Regions from separate parts of the Homo sapiens genome. Here regions 2, 3, 4, 5, 6 and 7 are each linked to region 1. Evidence: promoter capture Hi-C in 16 types of primary human blood cells and fetal thymus (Javierre and others, 2016). All regions are on one chromosome and are shown on one strand. Each heading gives the region's core, a stretch centred on a gene start or on the middle of the fragment in contact. The rest is flanking DNA. Distances are from core to core; before and after follow the strand shown. Region 1 holds the start of EGLN1 (egl-9 family hypoxia inducible factor 1). Region 2 overlaps DISC1 (DISC1 scaffold protein). Region 3 overlaps DISC1 (DISC1 scaffold protein). Region 4 overlaps TSNAX-DISC1 (TSNAX-DISC1 readthrough (NMD candidate)). Region 5 overlaps TSNAX-DISC1 (TSNAX-DISC1 readthrough (NMD candidate)). Region 6 overlaps TSNAX-DISC1 (TSNAX-DISC1 readthrough (NMD candidate)). Region 7 overlaps TSNAX (translin associated factor X).

What was found. Contacts are between HindIII fragments. The CHiCAGO score rates a contact against its expected background, and 5 or more counts as called.
Region 2: a fragment that was not itself captured here is called in contact with the fragment with the promoter of EGLN1 in region 1 in 1 of 17 cell types (total B cells); the score reaches 5.1 in total B cells.
Region 3: a contact is called between a fragment that was not itself captured here and the fragment with the promoter of EGLN1 in region 1, in 4 of 17 cell types (neutrophils, non-activated CD4 T cells, activated CD4 T cells and 1 more). The highest score is 6.2, in neutrophils.
Region 4: a contact is called between a fragment that was not itself captured here and the fragment with the promoter of EGLN1 in region 1, in 12 of 17 cell types (naive CD4 T cells, total CD8 T cells, non-activated CD4 T cells and 9 more). The highest score is 11.5, in naive CD4 T cells.
Region 5: a contact is called between a fragment that was not itself captured here and the fragment with the promoter of EGLN1 in region 1, in 14 of 17 cell types (naive CD8 T cells, neutrophils, total CD8 T cells and 11 more). The highest score is 10.5, in naive CD8 T cells.
Region 6: a fragment that was not itself captured here is called in contact with the fragment with the promoter of EGLN1 in region 1 in 16 of 17 cell types (megakaryocytes, endothelial precursors, naive CD8 T cells and 13 more); the score reaches 13.0 in megakaryocytes.
Region 7: a fragment that was not itself captured here is called in contact with the fragment with the promoter of EGLN1 in region 1 in 13 of 17 cell types (total CD8 T cells, naive CD8 T cells, naive CD4 T cells and 10 more); the score reaches 10.8 in total CD8 T cells.

The regions. Positions count from the first base shown.
Region 1 is chr1:231,420,876-231,423,669 of GRCh38, forward strand. It overlaps EGLN1 (egl-9 family hypoxia inducible factor 1), which reads right to left and starts at 1,412. Exons shown (of 5, transcript NM_022051.3): 1 at 123-1,412. The coding sequence starts at 1,013. RefSeq lists an enhancer at 1-237 and silencers at 618-1,797, 1,553-1,877. The HindIII fragment of the contact is 5,790 bases long and covers 1-2,794 here.
Region 2 is chr1:231,653,061-231,655,854 of GRCh38, forward strand. All of the region lies in intron 1 of DISC1 (DISC1 scaffold protein), which reads left to right. The region is part of intron 5 of TSNAX-DISC1 (TSNAX-DISC1 readthrough (NMD candidate)); the gene reads left to right. Among named protein-coding and RNA genes, the nearest start is that of DISC1, 28 kb to the left of the region's middle. The HindIII fragment of the contact is 203 bases long and covers 1,321-1,523 here.
Region 3 is chr1:231,635,360-231,638,153 of GRCh38, forward strand. The region is part of intron 1 of DISC1 (DISC1 scaffold protein); the gene reads left to right. The region is part of intron 5 of TSNAX-DISC1 (TSNAX-DISC1 readthrough (NMD candidate)); the gene reads left to right. Among named protein-coding and RNA genes, the nearest start is that of DISC1, 10 kb to the left of the region's middle. The HindIII fragment of the contact is 3,046 bases long and covers 1-2,794 here.
Region 4 is chr1:231,615,579-231,618,372 of GRCh38, forward strand. It overlaps TSNAX-DISC1 (TSNAX-DISC1 readthrough (NMD candidate)), which reads left to right. Exons shown (of 16, transcript NR_028393.1): 5 at 1,066-1,328. Among named protein-coding and RNA genes, the nearest start is that of LINC00582, 4.9 kb to the left of the region's middle. RefSeq lists a silencer at 2,371-2,571. The HindIII fragment of the contact is 279 bases long and covers 1,188-1,466 here.
Region 5 is chr1:231,594,674-231,597,467 of GRCh38, forward strand. The region is part of intron 4 of TSNAX-DISC1 (TSNAX-DISC1 readthrough (NMD candidate)); the gene reads left to right. The region is part of intron 1 of LINC00582 (long intergenic non-protein coding RNA 582); the gene reads right to left. Among named protein-coding and RNA genes, the nearest start is that of LINC00582, 16 kb to the right of the region's middle. The HindIII fragment of the contact is 5,790 bases long and covers 1-2,794 here.
Region 6 is chr1:231,576,952-231,579,745 of GRCh38, forward strand. The region is part of intron 4 of TSNAX-DISC1 (TSNAX-DISC1 readthrough (NMD candidate)); the gene reads left to right. Among named protein-coding and RNA genes, the nearest start is that of LINC00582, 34 kb to the right of the region's middle. The HindIII fragment of the contact is 958 bases long and covers 962-1,919 here.
Region 7 is chr1:231,555,444-231,558,237 of GRCh38, forward strand. All of the region lies in intron 4 of TSNAX (translin associated factor X), which reads left to right. All of the region lies in intron 4 of TSNAX-DISC1 (TSNAX-DISC1 readthrough (NMD candidate)), which reads left to right. Among named protein-coding and RNA genes, the nearest start is that of TSNAX, 28 kb to the left of the region's middle. The HindIII fragment of the contact is 3,130 bases long and covers 1-2,794 here.

The DNA of each region.
Region 1 (2,794 bases), core at 162-2,661:
AGAAAGAGCGAGTCCCTTCTATATAGAGGAATGCTGCTTCTCAGCCTAGGCAGTTTCAGTCGCAGGCAGGGGCTGCCCGCCGAGAAGGGCCTGTCCAGCACAAACCCGCAGCACACACTTACTTTCGTCCGGCCATTGATTTTGTAGCTGCCCAGCTTCCCGTTACAGTGGCGTATCAGGTCGTCCATGCTGCTCATGAGCAGCCCAATGGTTTCGCAGCCGGGCTCCTTGCCCTCGATCCAGGTGATCTTATCGCCTCGGATGTCCTTGGACGAGTCACTCTTCTGGCTGACCAGCTGCCCGTCCGTGAACTTCCCGGTGTCGTGCAGGGCGCGCACCTCGTCGCCGATCTGCTGTCCGGTCTCCTTGCCGAGGAAGTCGTCCACCACACAGATGCCGTGCTTGTTCATGCACGGCACGATGTACTCGAGCGCCAGCTTCAGCGCCGGCAGGGGCTTCGTCTGCCCGTTGGGCCGCAGGCCGCCGCCGGGGCTCAGCGCATCCCCGGGCGTGTTGCTTGGGGGGTACAGGTTCGCCTTCTCCTGGAACAGCGATGAGCGGGCCGGCGGCTCCTCCTTGCCGGGCTCGGCTTCGGCAGCCACCGCCGAGCCCTGGCCGCCGGCGGCCGCACGACACGGCGACGCGGCCGCCGCTGGGTCGGCCGGGGGCTTGGCCTTTACTTTTCCCTTGGCCGCGTCCCCGGAGGCGTTGTCCCGGCGCGCCGCTGCCTTCCTGGGCTCCCGGGCCCCGGCCCTGGGCGGCGGCACTGCAGCCGGCGGCGCGGGGCCGGAATGCTGGTGTGGGCCCACTCCGTGGCCGAGGGCGCCCTCGCTGCCCTGGCACACGAGCTTGTGCTTCTTCCAGTCCTGACGCTGGTGCTCCTTGCAGCAGTAGAAGGAGCTGCGGCAGCGGCTGCAGCGCAGCAGGTTCTCCATCTTCCCGCACAGCTCGCAGTACTGCCGGTCTCGCTCGCTCGGGCTCGGCCCGCCGGGCCCGCCGCTGTCATTGGCCATGGCGGCGGCGGCGGCGGCGACGGCGACTGCGGCGGCCGAGCAGGAGGGGTAGCGGCCGGACGGCCTCGCCCGAGGCTGGGGAGCGGGGAGAGAGATAGGGGCCGTTACTGCGCCATGCACCCGCTACCCTCGCCTCAGGGAGGCCGGCACCCCACGCCCTCGGCCCGGCCGCTTCCGAGTCCTAAGCTCCGGCGCAGCGCCGGCAGCCGCCTCAGCGCCTCATCGCCGCCGAGGGCTGAGAGAATAGGGCCTGTGCGGCGAATGGCAACCTGGGCTCAGGCGCGCGGGCCTGGGGAGCGCAAGACCGGCCCCCTCGGCCGCCGCCGCCGCCTCAGCGTCCCGGGCGGCCCGGCCCAGGCTGTGGAGGAGCGCAGGGCATACGGGCGCCACTCGCTCTGCGCGCTCTGCACGTACACCACGGCCCCGCGGCGACCCGGGCGGGCGGCGCGCGAGGGCGGAGGGGGCGGAGGGAGGGCCGGGAGGGCCGGGGGGAGGGCCGAGGGGCGGGGGCTGCCTGCGCTCCTCCGCACTCGGCGGGGCCGGGCCTCGGCTTCTGCCTCGGAGGTGGGTCGCCCGCTTTCCCTCCGCCCGGGACCGGACTGGGACGCCGAGAGGCCGGTGCGCTACCTCAGCCCGCAGCGGCCTCCTCGGGGACGCCGAGGCGCAGGCCCGCGAGCGGCGGAAAGGCGTGGGGCAGCGCGGCAGCGCCTACACCTGCTGGAGGAGGGCGCCAGCCGCAAGCGGGTAGCGGAGCGAAGGCGGCGTAATCATGGCTGCTCTTCCTCCAGGCCGGCGCGGGGTGTGCGAGGCTCGCTCCAGTCAAGGTTGCAAGGTGGCTATTGCGATCCTCATTTTGCAGAGGAGGAAACGGAAATTCAGAGAAGTAAAGTAACTTGCCCAAGGTCACGCAAAACTGGGACTGAATCCAGGAATCAGGCTCCCAGATTCCAAGGCTGTTTTTTCCATTACACCATACAGCCTCTATTTCAAGAAGCCCTGAAATGGTTAAGAACAAAATAAGTATTACTATGGTGTTAATCCAATCTCTTGCGCCCCGTTTCGACCTAGTTTAAAGGTAATGAAATTTGAGGGTTTTAAAAAAAATCAAAAACTCATTTTTAAAACCTTTGAAATCCCGCCGAGTTCAAAACCCCATGAAGAAATTTTGGGCTACCAAGTTAAATGTAATCAATGCTCATTCCAATATCCAATTTAAACTGATGGGATTATTCCTGAAAAGTGAATTTTGATGGTAAATGAGCAGTACTACATTAACGACTCTCACATTTATTTTTAATAGAATCTGTGCTGCGCGGATGAATACAATTCTTTGTTTTACAGAGCATAAAAACCTTACCAGAAATAAGCCAAAGATGTTTCTTTCTGCTGCTATTTGTCTTAAGAATTAAAAGGTCTGTGATTTCGAGTTTATCAATCTTTATCGAACACTATGTGGAAAGTGGGGTGCTAGGCTTGTGTATCACTTGAGTATACTGTAACTTCAGTCCTTGAAATATAGCCTTCCAAACTTAAAAAGTTGTAATATGTATTTCAAAAGCAGGATATAAGGAATTATTGTAAACCATATTGTAGAAGTTTAAAAAGAGGCTTGAATCCAAAAATATAAAACCTCTTCATCAAATATACAGAATTTAAAACTGTTATAAAATCCTGCTGCATGCGTAAATGGCATTCTGGGGATCCAATCAAGTGAAAGAGGATGATAATTCCAATTAGCTTGTCCTTTGGGAAACTGAGATAAATATACTCACATCTTCAAA
Region 2 (2,794 bases), core at 172-2,671, 230 kb after region 1:
GAGCCACTGTGCCCGGCCTAATGGTTACACAGTATTCCATGCTGACACCATAATTTACTCATCCAGTTACATTAAATTGGAATGTTCATAGTTGTTGACCTTTAGAACATGCCAGTATTAAGTTTTTGTATTTAAGGTGATGCTAGTTCTAAAGCATATATTCTGAAATCTCAGTGGCTTAACACCTCAGAAGTTTATTTCTCCTTATGTAAAGTTTAGGTTCTCTCCATTTGCTGATGGTTACCTTGAGGTACCAGGCTTGCGTGGAGGGGCTGCTGTGCCTTGCATGGCCATGCAGGGACTCAGGCCCTCTCCAGCGTGTGGTTTGCAAGGTTGCCCTGGCCCTTGCTGCTTAGCTGGCTGATAGTGGAAGAGAAAGTGAAGAAGATGTCACAGGAGGTTTTAATGGATCAGAACTGGAAGTGGCAGATACTGCTTCTGCCCCCATTCCATTGGCCAGAATGTCACATGGCCATACAAAACTGCAAGGGAGGCTGGGAAATGCCACTCATCTGTGTGTGTGGGAGGAAAGGAAATACATTTGGTGAATACTAGCTAGTCTCTAACAGAGCTTCCCCTACTGTTTACCAAATTCCTGTTTTGCTTTTCCCCTCACACACAGAACACACCCCTCCCAGAGTGAGGGACCCTAAGTCCCATCCAGCCCTGGCACCTTGCTTAGTCACTGTTCAGGATCTCTGGGTGATGTGCTGTCTTCCCCATCACATCTAAATGAGGATCCTTGTGGTTTGATGACTTATGAACTAGAAGAGAATAAAGTTATTTGCCTCCTCCCTAGCGCCTCCCAATTTTCAATGAAGCAGGGAAGCATTGTAACATTAGAAGCTCCCATTTAGAACAGAGTAAAGAGCGGGCAGCACAGTCATCACAGGCCCAAAGCAACAATGGAATCCAGTTGGGTGGGCAAGGTGGAGGTTCTCAACCAGAGGGTGGGAGAACTTTCTTGATTAGACCTTGATTTTGCCAGAAAAGGCAATCTCTTCTCAGTTGGTCTCCATGGTCCGAGCTCTGTCCTGGCAAGTTCCTTCTTGCACTTTATTCTCAATGGCTACGTTTGAAGTGATTGCAGGGGAGTCCGCCATCTTAGGAGGGTACACAGCTTTGCAGCCCTCTAGTGCCCTGCTGTTGTTTCAAGGCTCAAATAGACAAACGTCTTTAAAAAATTTTATTTTTAGTCCAGGCTCATGGTTTCTTTGGCCATACATTTATGTCAAAAATTTGATAGGATTCTGTTTTTTTTTTAAATTAATTACTTTTATTTTTGACAAATAATTTACATATTTATGGGGTACAATGTGAAGCTTTCATATATTTATTCACTATGAAATGATTAAACCAAGCTAATTAACATATCCATCATTTCACGTGTGTGTGTGGTATGAAATTTTTGTGTGTGTGTGGTATGAAATTCTTAGCAATTTTGAAATATATTGCATTATTATTAACTATAGTCACCATGCTGTGGAATAAATCTTAAGAACTTATTCCTTCTGTCTAACTGAAGCTTTGTATACTTTGACTAACATCTTCCCATCCACTTCTACCCTTGCCCCAGCCCCTGCTAACCACCATTCTATTCTCTACTTCCGACTTTTTTTAGATTACACCTGTAACTGAGATCATGCAGTATTTTTCTTTCTGTGCTTGGATTACTTGTTTCTGTTCTGTTTTCTTCCCTTAAGTTTTTTATGCCAATAGCAAATCCCTAAGTTTTTTTCCTAGATATTATTACCAAGCTTGAATTATTATATTACTTTCTCACCCTAATACCCTTTTCTGTCAATGAGATGGTGACTTCCTTGAGGCCTTCAGGGTCAGATGGGAAGGCAAAATTCTTAATTAGCTCTTTGCTACAAGGCTGAATCTTTTACCTGTGTCACTCAAAAGCCTTTTCAATCTTGTTTCTTACTCCTCAGACTTTAGAAGCAGTCATTTCTTCCAAGGCTTTACACTCAGAAGTTTCTGGACAAACATCTGGACTCTATTCCCTTTCATTTTATGCTTGCAAACCAACAAATTCTTTTTTTAAAAAAGTATTTTAATAGCTTTAGGAGTACAAGTGGTTTTTGCTTACATGGATGAATGGTATAGTCCTGAAGTCTGAAATTTTAGTGTACCCAAGTTGCGTACATTGTGCCCAATATGTAACTTTTAAAGTCGCCCCTCCCACACTCCCCTATTCTGAGTCTCTAAAGTCCATTATATCACTTTGTGTGCCTTTGTGTATCCATAGCTTAGCTCCCATTTACCAATGAGAAAGTACAGTGTTTGGTTTTCCACTCCTGAGTTAGTTCACTTAGAATAATGGCATTCAGTTCCATCTGAGTTGCTGTAAAATACATTATTTCATTCTTTTTTATGGCTAACTAGTATTCCATGGTGTATATATACCACATTTTCTTCATCCACTCATTGATTGATGGGCACTTAGGTTGGTTCCATAGCTTTGCAATTGTGAATTGTGCTGTGATAATCATATGCATGCAGGTGTCTTTTTGATGTAATGACTTCTTTTCCTTTGGGTACCTAGTCCAGTAGTGGGATTGCTGGATTGAATGGTAGATCTACTTTTAGTTCTTTGAGAAATCTCCATACTGTTTTCCATAGAGGTTATACTGATTTATGTTACCACCAGAAGTATATAAGCTTTTCCTTTTCACCATATCCATGCCAACATCTCTTGTTTTTTGACTTTTTAATAAAGGGCCATTCTGTTTGGGATAAGGTGGTTTCTCATTGTGGTTTTAATTTGCATTCCCTGATGATTAGTGAT
Region 3 (2,794 bases), core at 185-2,684, 210 kb after region 1:
GAATCCGTCTTTCTTGCTCCCAATCTGAACGCATCAAAATGTCATCCCTCATTTACCACCTAGCAAATCAATAATGCTTCTCAGCCTTCCCTGGTTCTCTGGAATCGTCTGCTCTCTCCTTCTTCTGTTATAGTTTGTTATGGATATAACCTGTTTTTCTGACTCCAATGTAGACTTCTTCAACTCAAGGTTTCAGTTCTGGTTTATCTCCTTACTCCCTCATCTATGTAGTACACTTATGGTTTACTCTGTTCTCACTGGATTAGACCAAACTCTTAATTATATTTAGGATGTATTAATCCAATGCATAGATTAACCAAGTCTATTATTTTTATATCTTTTGAAACCAATCAGGAGTTTCAGAAGTTCAGTTCAGTTTAAATATTTATTGAGATGCATACACTATATAGTCAGATACTATGATAGCTCTTGAATATAAAAAATATATATACTTATGTTTGTATATATATGTGTAAATTGATATGTAAATTCAAATAGATAGTGTTGTCTACACCATTGAGAAGCCTATAGTCCCGTGGAAAAAAGAGAATTCATTCTCATGAAGTTTCCGGATATTGTTTCATCAGAAGGACTGGGCACATCGGGGTGTACTAAAATCATTAAGAAGTATTTAGCACCAGTAGATGCCTAATAAATACCTTACAGTCTAGATGGATGGATAGATGGAGGAAGAAAGAAGGGCTCCTTTAATTTATAATTTACCTATTGCTGGGTTTACTCCTAGGTATGACAATTTTGAAAACAATTTACTCAATGTTTATTTCCACACTGTGTATGAAATATGCTGCTCTTCATTCAGAAAGAGATATATAATTCTCCATTTGTAGAACACTGAGTTAATTTCATGGTTGTGATGTTGCTTTTGCTTACTTTCACCCACATTTTCTCCTCTGTAGGGTGGCAGCTCCGTAGGGTGGACACACGCTTTGGGAGACCTGCAGCTGTTTGTGTCTGGGGGCAATGGTGAAGGGCAGTGACTCATTGGCCCAGAACTCATGATCTCATCTCTCACCCAGCTGGCTAATCGGCCTTGGGGACAGGAGGATGAGCGCTGCACTCCCTCCTAATCATGCAGCTTTTGTATGTCTTTCTTTACTTGACTTAAATTGTAATTTGAATGGAAAAATGGACAAATTCTATCATTTGAATTTAACTTTTATATATTTTCTTGACTCTGATTTGGGATTATCTAAGTGCATTTATTCAAATATTTATTGTGTTTTTGAAACTTTTTTTGAAAAGCATAAGGTAATACATGATAAAAGATATTGTTATTACCCCTGTTTCTGCCATTTCAAGGAGTCAGAACAGGCTCAGTGGAAACAAAATGAGATGTCTTATGGGAGTTACTTTCCCTTCAGCTAATCTTGGTATGAATTTATATTGACACTACCTTTAAAATTTTATTCTGCTTTTTAAATTTTACTTTAAGTTCTGGGATACATGTGCAGAACATGCAGGTTTGTTACATAGGTATACATGTGCCATGGTGGTTTGCTGCACCTATCAACTTGTCATCTAGGTTTTAAGCCCCACATGCATTAGGTATTTGTCCTGATGCTCTCCCTCCCCTTGACCCCTACCCCCCAGCAGGCCCTGGTATGTGATGTTCCCCTCCCTGTGTCCATGTGTTCTCATTGTTCAATTCCCACTTATGAGTGAGAACATGGGGTGTTTGGTTTTCTGTTCCTGTGTTAGTTTGCTGAGAATGATGGTTTCCAGCTTCATCCATGTCCCTGCAAAGGACATGAACTCATCCTTTTTTATGGTTGCATAGTATTCCTTGGTGTATATGTGCCACATTTTCTTTACCCGGTCTATCATTGATGGGCATTTGGGTTGGTTCTAAGTCTTTGCTATTGTACATAGTGCTGCAGTAAACATACGTGTGCATGTATCTTTATAGTAGAATGATTTACAAGCCTTTGGGTATACACCCAGTAATGGGATTGCTCGGTCAAATGATTAGTTTTTTATTTATATAAATTTATGGGGTACAGTGCAATTTCATTACATGCATAGTTTGCCTAATGGTCAAGTCGGGGCTTTTAGGATGTCCATCACCCAAATAATGTACATTGTACCCATTGAGTAATTTCTCATCCTTCACTCCTCCTATCCTCACCCTTCTGAGTCTCCATTGTCTGTTATTCCACTTTCTACATCCACGTGTGGACATGATTTAGCTCCCACTTGTAGGTGAGACCATGTGATATTTGTGTTTCTGTGTCTGACTTGTTTCATTTAAGATAACGGTTTCCAGTTCCATCGATGTTGTTGGAAAAGGCATGAGTTCATTTTGTATGGCTGAATAGTTTTCCCTTTTGTATGTATACCGTATTTTCTTTATCCAGTTCTCTGTTGATGAACATCTAGGTTGATTCCATATCTTTGCTGTTGTGAATATTGCTGTGATAAACATGTGAGTCCAGGTATTTTTCTGATACATTGATTTATTTTCCTTTGGGTAGATACACAATAGTAGGATTGCTATATTAAATGGTAGTTTTATTTTTAGTTCTTTGAGAAATCTCCATACTTTTTTCCATAGAGATTTTAATAATTTACATTCTCACCAATAGTGTTTAAAATTTCCCTTTTCACTTTTCACTGCATTCTCTTCAATATCTGTTATTTTTTGACTTTTTAATAATGGCCATTCTGACTGGCATAAGATGACATCTCATTGTGGTTTCAATTTGCATTTCTTTGATTAGTAGTAATGTTGAACATGTTTTCCATTTGTATGTCTTCTTTTGAAAAATGTCTATTC
Region 4 (2,794 bases), core at 77-2,576, 190 kb after region 1:
GCTGGGATTACAGGTGTCTGCCACCACGTCCAGCTAATTTTTGTATTTTTAGTAGAGACGGGGTTTCACTATGTTGGCCAGGCTGGTCTCGAACTCTGGACCTCAGGTGATCCACCCACCTCGGCCTCCCAAAGTGCTGAGATTACAGGCATGAGCCACCATGCCCAGCCCTCATATTTCTTTTAAAATAAATTATATACATTATTTTAAATTGTAAAAATCCAAAAAGCCAAAAATTTTTAAAAGAATGAGATAAACAGTATCTTTCAAATAATGAAAAAAAAATGGTATATAATGTTAGATTTAGGCTTGGCTTCATATAAGAAAAAACAACTAATGGTGGCATAAACAAGGTAACAATTTTTCTCTGTCCCATAAAGGAAATCTAAAGGAAGGCAATCCAGCAGGGATATGGCAACCCCACAAAGTTGTCATGGAACCAGACTAATTCCAGTTATCTGCTTTGCCATTACTAAGCTGTGGCTTTGTCTTCAAGGTTCAAGATGGCGTCTAGAGCTCCAGCCATTGTATCCATAGTCCCAGATGCCTGATGAATGAAAGAAAAGTCTCCTCTTCCCCTTTAAGATTTCTTTAAGTCCCATAAAACATTTTGAAACCAGATTGGAAGTCTTTTAACCTTCTGATTCCAACCTAGAGCAAGGAAATCCCCCAAGGAGTGCTCTACCATGTGAAATCTTCTCTTCCCCATGTTGTCATGATCCTGCCCTCATGTGCTCTGACTATTGCCAAGCCTTGGATTTCATTTCTGGAATAATGCCTTGCTCAATATTAGAACCACTTTAGTTAGGATTTGGGGGAGGCAGCATGATTGAAGAACGTGAGTGCTGTTGACGACAGTATTGTTGGTGAAAGCAGCTCCAGTTCCACAACTTACGATCTGAGACATCGTGTGGCCATTCATGTACAGGCTTTCAGAACTGAGAGAACTTTGGTAGACTAATCAAGATGAGATAGGTTATCCGGTGGCAACAAAGATACCTACGTCTCAGTAGCTTAATTCAATGTATGCTTCCTTTTCTCTTGTTCATGTTTTATGTTTTATAGAAGTTTACAGGCAAGATCCTACTCACAGAGGCTCTTGGGATCAAGGCTGACAGAAGCTCCATCTGAAGACTTTTATACTATAGAGGCAGAAAAAGAGTGATGAATCAAGCACTGGCTTCTAAAGCTTCCGCCCAGATGGGAAGCATATCTCCTCTGCTCACATTTCCCTGACCAAAGCCAGTCACATGGCCATCCTCAGCTTCAGAGAGGTTGGGAAGGCATTCCCACTATGTGTCTGGATGCCAGCAACTCAGAAATATTTGGTGAGTGCCTCTGTGGCTACTGGTAGTTTAGTTCTTATGCCTATGTTCCAGTTTTGTCCTCTGAAAGGCCAAATCTGAAATTCAAAATCTTACAAACAGGTTTATACTTGAAAACGGGTAAACATTCTCATAACATAAAGCTTAATAATATTCATGAGCTTATTTTTGCAAACTCTGCATCACACCGAAAAGAGAAGTTCTCTGGCTTCCTCAGCTCAGGGGCTGTCTCATTACTTGGTCCCTAAGACCACAGCTGGGGACTGGTTCTACCTACTATGGAAGTTTCACCAGCCAGGACAAAATAAAAAAGAAAGGAAAAACCAGGATAAATGAGCTTTTGAGAAAGCAAAATTCACTGTTTTTAAGGAACTGTCCTAGCTTCTATCACATATGTATTATTTTTTTGAGGTTAAAAGAAGGCTTTTCTATATGAAATAGTGGCGATGGTAGTTGGTAGAAGTTTTTTTTTTTTAAAGAAATGTATGGCTGGGTGCGGTGGCTCACGCCTGTAATCCCAGCGCTTTGGGAGGCTCAGGCAGGCAGATCACCCGAGGTCAGGAGTTCAAGACCAGCCTGGCCAACATGGTGAAACCCTGTCTCTACTAAAAATACAAAATTAGCTGGGGATGGTGGCGTGTGCCTGTAGTCCCAGCTACTCGGGAGGCTGAAGCAGGAAAATTGCTTGAACTCAGGAGGTAGAGGTTGCAGTGAGCCGAGATTGAGCCATTGCACTCCAGCCTGGGCAAAAAAGAGCAAAACTCTATCTTAAAAAAAAAAAAAAGTAAATTTACTTGGCAAAATAAAATGTTAGTGTCATTATATATCTCACCTTCTTGTTTTTTCTTAAATTTTTAGCAACCAGCCATGAAACAAAAGTTTAAAAGCCACTCATCTGGTTTCCCCTTTGTTTTCAAAGAAGGAAGCTAGAAAATTAAGTGATGTATCCCCAAACACACACATTTAATTGGAGAAAGAACCCCTAATCAATTCTTGAATTCAAATTTCAAATTAGCTGAATGGCATGAACCTTTCTTCCCCTGGAATAGCCTTACAGAGACCTCACCATTAACAGCATCTGCAAGAGAAGATTAAAGCACACGATTACTTTACTCACTGTGTAACACATGAGGAACATGGACGAGATGGGAAAAAGGTGAGTGGCTTAACGTCAAGCACTTCATTAATGAGATGAACTCCTGACTTTGGACAGTGGTCCACTTACAGACGCTGTCTTTGAAACTGCCTGCAGAGCCTCCTGAGATCTTCTAATATGGCTGTTGAATTGGGGCATTTAAAAGCTTCTGATGGTTGCAATGTGCATCAGTTTTGGGGGACAGGGAGGTCCCCTCTCTCTCATTAAGAAGACACAAGCCAGGAATTTATACTGATCAGACAACATAAAAATCAGCTGTGAGAGGATTGGGTCAGAAAACCAATGAAGAGAGGTTGGCCAGAAGATTAAAAAT
Region 5 (2,794 bases), core at 77-2,576, 170 kb after region 1:
AAGGCCAAGGTCTCTCAATATTTCCTGTCCCCCAGAGTAGGCCCTTCACTTAATATGAGGTTCATTTATATTGTAGCTGTATCAGTACTTCATTGTTTTTATGGCTAAATAGTATTTCACTGAATGGATATGCCAGTTTTGAGTATCCATTCATCAGTGGAAAGACATTTGGATTGTGTCCACTTTTCAGCTGTCATGAGTTTTATGCTAGCTATAAACGTTTGTCTACAAGTTTTTATGTGGACATAGTTTCATTTCTTCTGGGTGTGTATCAAGGAATGGAATTGCTGGGTCACATGGTAACTTTATGTTAATATTTGGTTGTATTTTTGAGGAGCTGACTGGGACCAATCCATATCGAAAACCTTAACTAGGAAGTGCAGACAGGAGCCTCCAGAGGAAAACCTCCCCAGAGGGTTAAGACCTGTGCAGTGTTTAAAGTTAGAGGACTTTACAGCTGGGCGCGGTGGCTCACGCCTGTAATCCCAGCACTTTGGGAGGGCAAGGGGGGCAGATCACGAGGCCAGGAGTTCGAGACCAGCCTGGCCACCATGGTGAAACCCTGTCTCTACTAATAATACAAAAATTAGCCGGGCGTGGTGGCACGTGCCTGTAGTCCCAGGTACTTGGGAGGCTGAGGCAGAAGAATTGCCTGAACCTGGGAGGTGGAGGTTGCAGTGAGCTGAGATCGTGCCACTGCACTCCAGCCTGGGAGACAGAATGAGACTCCCTCTCAAAAAAAAAAAAAAAAAAAAGTTAGAGGACTTTGAATAGAGCCTAAGGTTATCTTTGGGTCTTGACCTAACAGAATGTTAGATGTGTTTCTTTTTGTGTGATATCAGTTGAGACACTAATGTGTAATGGACAACAAATACAAAAATGAGTGTTAAGACTGAACCCCACGTGGGCAAAACTTAGAAAGGGTCAGGGGTAAGGAGACGAGAACAGATGTTTGTACACCCATGTTCAGAGCAGCATTATTCACAATAGCTGAAAGGTAGAAGCATCTCAAGTGTCCACTGATGGTTGAATGAAAAAACAAAGTGTGGTCTCTCCACACAATGGAATATTATTCCATCCTGACACGTGCTATAACATGGATGAACCTTGAGGATATTGTACTCAGTAGAATAAGCCAGTCATAAAAAGAAATAATGTATGATTCCACTTACATGAGGTTCCTAGAGAAGTCAGATTCATAGAGACAGGAAGTTCAAATGGTAGGTGCCAGGGACTGGGAGTCGGGGGTGGGGGAGTTCATGTTAGAAACTCTGGGTACAGAGTTTCAGTGTGGGAGGATTAAAAGAATTTTGGAGATTGTTCGGCGGTTATAGTTGCACAGCAGTGTGAATATAGTTAATACAACCGAGCTATACATTTGAAAATGGTAAAAATGCTAAGTTTTATGTTGTATGTAATACCACATACAAAGTAATGAAAAAGAGGGGGATTCCAGTATAGTCAGAGGAGGCGTATTTGTCTCCAGACTCTCCTCTTCTCCTCCACTCCGCCCGTGGCTGGGGAAAGGGCTTCAGTAGGATTGTCCATGAGCTTGATTTGTGTTTGCTGAAGTTGGGGCACATTCAGAATGGGGTTGACACCTTAGGAAATGGAGGGGCTAAGAGGCAGGTTCACCAACCAGCAGTGAGGTCAGGAGCGTGCTGTTACCTCTGGAATATCAAGGCCAAGGTCTCTCAATATTTCCTGTCCCCCAGAGTAGGCCCCTCCGCGGGAGAGCTGGCGAGAGCAGTTTGTGAGTGCTGCCTGGGGAGCCACTGGGAAGGGTGGAGTCTGCAGCAGCATGAAGCCATGTGGAGTGCACAGTGGGGAAAAGCAGCCTGGGGGGTGGAATGTTTTGTTCAAAGCCTGAGAATTAGGTGAGAGGCCTCAGCAATTGGGTAATTAAAAAGAAAACAAAAGCCCATGAAATTGCTTCGTGGAAGTAAGAGTTTGCTTTCACTGTGTCAAGCCCAGAGTGCAGGGAGCCACCCAGCTAAGTAGAATCCATTGCCTCTCCCCAGGAAGGGCCCCAAACAGCAGCTAGTGGGAGAATGCAGAAGAGGAGAAGACGCCCACACCTTCTTCTCCAAAGCAGGCAGTCTTTAGACCTCACTTAGCCAAGAAGAGAAAGACTCTGAATGAGGACTGAATGGCTTGTTAGTATCTTGGACTGAACCTGTACAAGTTACTAAACCAATGCTGATTTTATGATCTTAACACTGTAGAACCATCCATTATCTAAGAGTGAATGCAGAAGTCATGAGATTTGCCCAAGTATCCATTCAGGGATAGAGGAAATTATCTCCATAATTATATTTTGAAGGCACCACAGGAGAATAAACAAAAACAAACAAACAAATAAAAGACAGTTATTGGCTTTGCTACAAAACTGGTTTAGTCAATATACAAATTGTACTCCCAGCCCTTTTCCCCCCCAGAATATCTTTATTTTTTTCTACATATGAACACTTTTTTCCCCAGTGTCTTTGTAAAGACTTTTATTTTTGTGGTCCACATGCTTTAACTTGTGTATGGAAATAATCTGGACCGAGTCAGCAATCGTGGGTTCTAGTCTGTGGTCTTCTTTATTTTATTTTAATTAATTAATTTTATTTATTTATTTATTTTTGAGACGGAGTCTTACTTTGTTGCCAGGCTGGAGTGCAGTGGCACGATCTTGGCTCACTGCAACCTCCACCTCCTGGGTTCAAGCAATTCTCCTGCCTCAGCCTCCTGAGGAGCTGGGACTACAGGTGTGTGCCACCATGCCCAGCTAATTTTTGTATTTTTAGTA
Region 6 (2,794 bases), core at 191-2,690, 160 kb after region 1:
TACCCCTTGCTCCACTTCATCTTATTGTAACCCTCTCCCCTTGGCTCTCTTCACAGTCTCACCAGCCTCCAGCTTTTGGATCTTTACACAGTCTGGTTCTTCTACCTGGTTTGCTCTTTCCTCCAGATATCTGCACAATAATTCCCTCATCTCTTTTAAGTTTGTGCTGTGTCACCTACTTAATAATGCCTACTTTGATCTTCTAATTTAAATTGTCACTGGCCACCCACTCCCCACCCCACTACTGCCTTACGTATTTGCAGAGGGTGGCATTTACATAGAACATAATATGAATGGTATCCTTGAAGTTGTGGAAAGTAGCTTTCCTGTATTACGTAAGTAATACGTACCATACGTATGTATTAGGCTTATTGTTTGTCTTCTTTAATTAATATGTAACCTCGCCAAGGAGAGGAATGTTTGTCTTTTTTACTCACTGGTGTATCCCAAACATGTTGAATGGTCCCTGGCATATGCGTGCCTAGTGAGTATTTGTAGAATAAATAGACAATTAGATTATGTCCAAGTTATTTATTTATTTATTTATTTATTCATTTATTTATTTATTTTTTGAGACAGAGTCTCGCTCTTTCGCCCAGGCTGGAATGAAGTGGTGTGGTGTGATCTCAACTCACTGCAACCTCTGTCCCCCGGGTTCAAGTGATTCTCCTGCTTCAGCCTCCCAAGTAGCTGGGATTTCAGGCACCTGCCACCATGCTCGGCTAATTTTTTTTTTTTTTTTTTTGGTATTTTTAGTAGAGGTGGGGTTTCACCATGTTGGCCAGGCTGGTCTTGAATTCCTGACCTCAGATGACCCACCCGCCTCAGCCTCCCAAAGTGCTAGGATTACAGGTGTGAGCCACCATGGCTGGCCCAAGTTTTTGATACTATAAACAATACTGAAGTGAGTATCTGTGATGGTTAATTTTATGTGTCCACTTGACTGGATTACGGGCACCCAAGCTTTTGACCAAACATTACTCTGGGTGTGCCTGTGAGGGTGTTCCCAGATGAGATTAGCATTTGGATTGGCAGACTGAATACAGCAGATTGCCCTTCCTAATGTGGGTGGACCTCAGCTCATCAATCGAAGACCCGAATAGAACACAAAAGCTAAGTAAGAGGGAACTCCTCTTCTCTGGCTGCTTGAGACATTGGTCTTTTCTGGCCTTAAGACTCAGACTGGCCGGGCGTGGTGGCTCATGCCTGTAATCCCCACACTTTGGGAGGCTGAGGCAGGTGGATCCCCTGAGGTCAGGAATTCAAGACCAGCCTGGCCAACATGGTGAAACCCCATCTCTACTAAAAATACAAAAAATAGCTGGGCGTGGTGGCGGGTACCTGTAATCCCAGCTACTTTGGGAGGCTGAGGCAGGAGAATCACCTGAACCTGGGAGGCAGAAATTGCAGTGAGCCAAGATCACACCATTGTACTCCAGCTTGGGCAACAAGAGCAAAACTCTGCCTCAAAAAACAAACAAACAAAAAAACTCAGACTGAAACATCAGCTCCTGGGTCTGGAGCCTCGTGGCTTTTAGTATTAATAACATCAGCTATTCTGGTTCTCAGGCCTTTGGACTTGAACAATGGTTCTCCTGGGTCTCCAGCCTGCCACCTGCCTATCTTGGGACTTCTCAACCTCTGTAATCCTGTGAGCCAATTCCTTATAATTAAACACACACACACACACACACACACACACACACACTCTCTCTCTCTCTCTCTCTCTCTCTCTCTCTATTGGTTCTGGTTCTGTTTCTCTGGAGAACTCTGGGTAATACAATATCTTTGGCTTATCTCCTTGTGTACCTATGTAAGAATTTCTCTAGGAAGATTATGAAGGAGTGAAGTTGCTTGGTCTTAGGGGTATACGTATGTTCCACTTTATTAGATATTGCCAAAGTGCTTTTACCAATCTAAGCTTTCTTCTACAACTGTCTAATAGTTTATGTTTCCACATAATTTTGTGAGTCCTGATGGTCAATCTAATGGATTTTTAATGGTTTTTTTTTTTTTTTTGGGAAACAGGGTCTCGCTCTGTTGCCCAGGCTGGAGCGCAGTGGTGTGATCATAGCTCACTGCAGTCTCAGACTCCTGGGCTCAAGCCATCCTCCTGCCTCTACCTACCTAGTAGCTGGGACTATAGGCACAGGCCACTGTGCCTGGCTAATTTTCTTATTTTTTATAGAGATGAAGTCTCACCATGTTGCCCAGGCTAGTCTTGAACTCGTGACGTCAAGTGATCCTCCCGCCTTGGCCTCCCAAAGTGTTGGAATTATGGACTCGAGCCACCACATTTGGCTGACAGTATCGCTTAATTTTTAATTTTCCTACTGCTACTAATTTTACCTATATGAGATCGCATTTTTGTGAGCTAAAACTATCAAGTATTGGCAATTTAATGAGGTTTAATCTAATAGTGAATATCTTTACAATGAAAACTTTTGCCACCCAGATTTTGTCTATATATTACTTGCCCTTATATTCTTGACATTTTTCTATTAGATTGTCTTTCTCCAAACTGCTCTTTCCCCCTTCTCTCCTTTTTGTAGTTCTTTACTGATAGCTTCTCCTGGTCTATGGTTGAGAGTATGTTGTCCTTTTTATAGAGAAATTTTGATGCCACCAAAATTTGGACACCAGTATCCATTACCTGCCACTCTCAATTACCCTTAACCGCCCCCCACCCCCGTGGCCTTAGGCAACAACTAATCGACTTTCTATATGTACATATTTGCCTGTTATGGACATTTCATGTAATGGAATCATAAAATTCCATTCTTTCAATTACTGG
Region 7 (2,794 bases), core at 137-2,636, 130 kb after region 1:
AGTTTCATTTTGGAAAGATTAATACAAGAATTCTGTAGATGAATGGTAATAATGGTTGTACAACATTATGAATGTATTTAATATGCTAAACTGTACACTTAAAAATGGCTAAGCTGGTAAATGTTATGTTTGTTTTACCACAATTAAACGGAGAAAAAATAAAAATGAAACTGCTAATTTTTAAAAAAATCAAACGAATTCTAACCACTTCAGCTCTTTAAGCAAGATGCCATAATTCATTTTGTTGGGAGTAAATATTGCTTACTGTATTGCAGTATTTGGCTTACAGAGATGATTGGAGTAAAAGCACATCTTAAGAGTTTGCTCCTGCTCAAGGAAAGACTGAAATTCCTGTTTTCCTAGGTCCTCTGTGATAATTAAGGATTTTGTCCCAGGGTAGATGTCCATTTGTAGAATAGAGTCCTTAAGGAGTTTTTGGACATGCAAGAGTAGAAATGGAGCTAAGTTGAGGGGAGGAACCAAAGAGCCTTGGATAATGAAAGATGAATAATTTTAAATTTCATAGTTGCACAATGGAAGAGGGGAAAGAAAAGCAATAGACAATCAAAAAGCAAAGTACTATTTTTAAAACTACTCCTGCTTCTGAATGAATGTTATTGAACAAAGATGACAATTACGGAGACAATGATATGGTAAAATATCATGCATTTGTCCATGGAAGAAAAAAGTTTGTTCACCTTCATTAGTTGTAAAAAGTTGTTTTGTCCGTGAGTCAATTCAAAACATGGAAAATGGTTTTAGTGAATTTATTTTTAAAAATAATTTGTAATTAGTAAAATCAACTAGGTACAACTAAATGCCAGGCCTGGGCCTCAGTTGTAAAAGTACTAGATGCCATGATCTTGATGGTACTTTTAAAATTTGGAATATTTTGAACTATTCTTCCACTGAAATATGAAAAAAAAAGTACTTGAATGAAACTAAACTATATGGCAGCCAAACAGAAATGCTATTTGTTTCTGCAACAAGGCACTGCTGAATGATACAGAATATTAGTAGTATGTTGTTGCTAAAGTGTTTGTGGTCTTATCAACAGCTACATATGAAATAATACTAAATTTAACAAATAGGATCGACAGTGTTACATTGGGCGAGATGGAGAGAATAACAGCCCCCTTTCCATGTAAGGCTGCTTATCCTGTTTGTTGAATTTAATATTATTCAAGGCTCAGGAAAATATGTGTGTATTGCCTTCAACTGACATAGTTCTACTTTTTATACTGTCTCCCTACCTACCTATTGCCATGTATAAGACAGGCACCTTGCCAGTTGTGTTTGATTCTGACCATTTAAAGCAGTGCTATTTTTTGCTCAACATGCATACAGATATATGTTTATGTACCCATCTTGGAAATGCAAGCCTTTGTGAGTTATGACTTAACTATAGCATGAATTGAGGCTGATAATGTAAGTGGGGGTGAAATTAAGCATGGTCTTATAAGCCACGTTAATGGTTTTGCCCTGTATTCTGAGCGCCATGGGAAGCTATTTGGGCTTTAAACTGGGGAATGATGTCGTTAACATATTAAAAAGGCAGACAGTCTGCAGTGTGAGAATGGATGTGAAGAGGTCAAGAATAGATGGGGGGAGACCAGGACATGCTTAGAATTGGCAAAACTTGAGAGAACCAGGTTTGGAAGGAAGGTAGTGAGTTCATTGTTGGAAGTGTTGATTTTGAGGTATCTTTGGTAAGGATGTCAGATACTCATTTGGATGTGAGTGCCTGTTGGCCAGAGATGTGAAGTTTAAGGGCAGCAAGGTTACTTGAAACCAAGTATAGATGAACTGGAGGGAACCTAGGACTGATAGAGGCAGAGACTTAAGAAGACATGACTAGAGAGGTGGAAAAGTGGGAAATCAGGAGATGATGCTGTCAAAGGAATCAAAGGAAAACTTGTTCAAAGAGGGGAAGTGGCACAAAATGCTGAATGCTGCCGAGATGAAGACGGAAAGAATGTCCATTAGTCTTATTTATTATGGTAATCTTAGCAAGAACTATTTTGTTTTAGAGATGTACCCAAGCTAGATTGAAGTAGGTTGAGAAGTGTGAGATGAAGTTATTGAGGAAATGATGTAGCCAGCTACTTCAAGAAACTTAGCTCTGAGGAGGAGGAGACAGATGGAGCAATAGTTGAGAGGAAATATAGGGTTCATGGATAGGACAGATCTGAGTGTGTTTCAGTATTTCTGTAAGATTCAGTATAGAACATAAAGTGAGAACACCTAGTATGTTAAAGGGAGAATTCATGTGAAGCTCCCAGCTGGTACTGAATCTTGATCCTGAACCTAATACAGTGACTAGCCACAGAAAATGGAACACCTTCTCTAGGTAGTAGGGCTGAAGGAGAAGTAATACCATTATTTATTTTCCTAATTCCTTATTGTATTCATCAGGCTCCAAACAGGAAACAGAAATTAGATGGTAATATGAACAGGGAAAGTTAAATACAACATACAGACTTATTAACCATATAGGGGATTATAAGAGTAAAAGAGAACTCTAAAGAGTACTGGAATCTCAGATAGAGTGAGCAGCCACTACCCCTAGGGCGGAGGCAGAGCACCCAAGGAACTAAATTTGGCAGAACCCAACCCTCACCCTTCACAGGATGAGGTCCAGACCATGCTGGAGAGGGTGGGCATGTCCCATCGGCTGGCAGAGACATTTGCTGAGCTGTTGTGCTGATGGACTCTCTGGGAAGCTGTCCATGGGGAAATGCCATGGAAAGGAATTCCCTGCCCAAGGAGGTGGCTTACTGGGAAGCCATTCTCT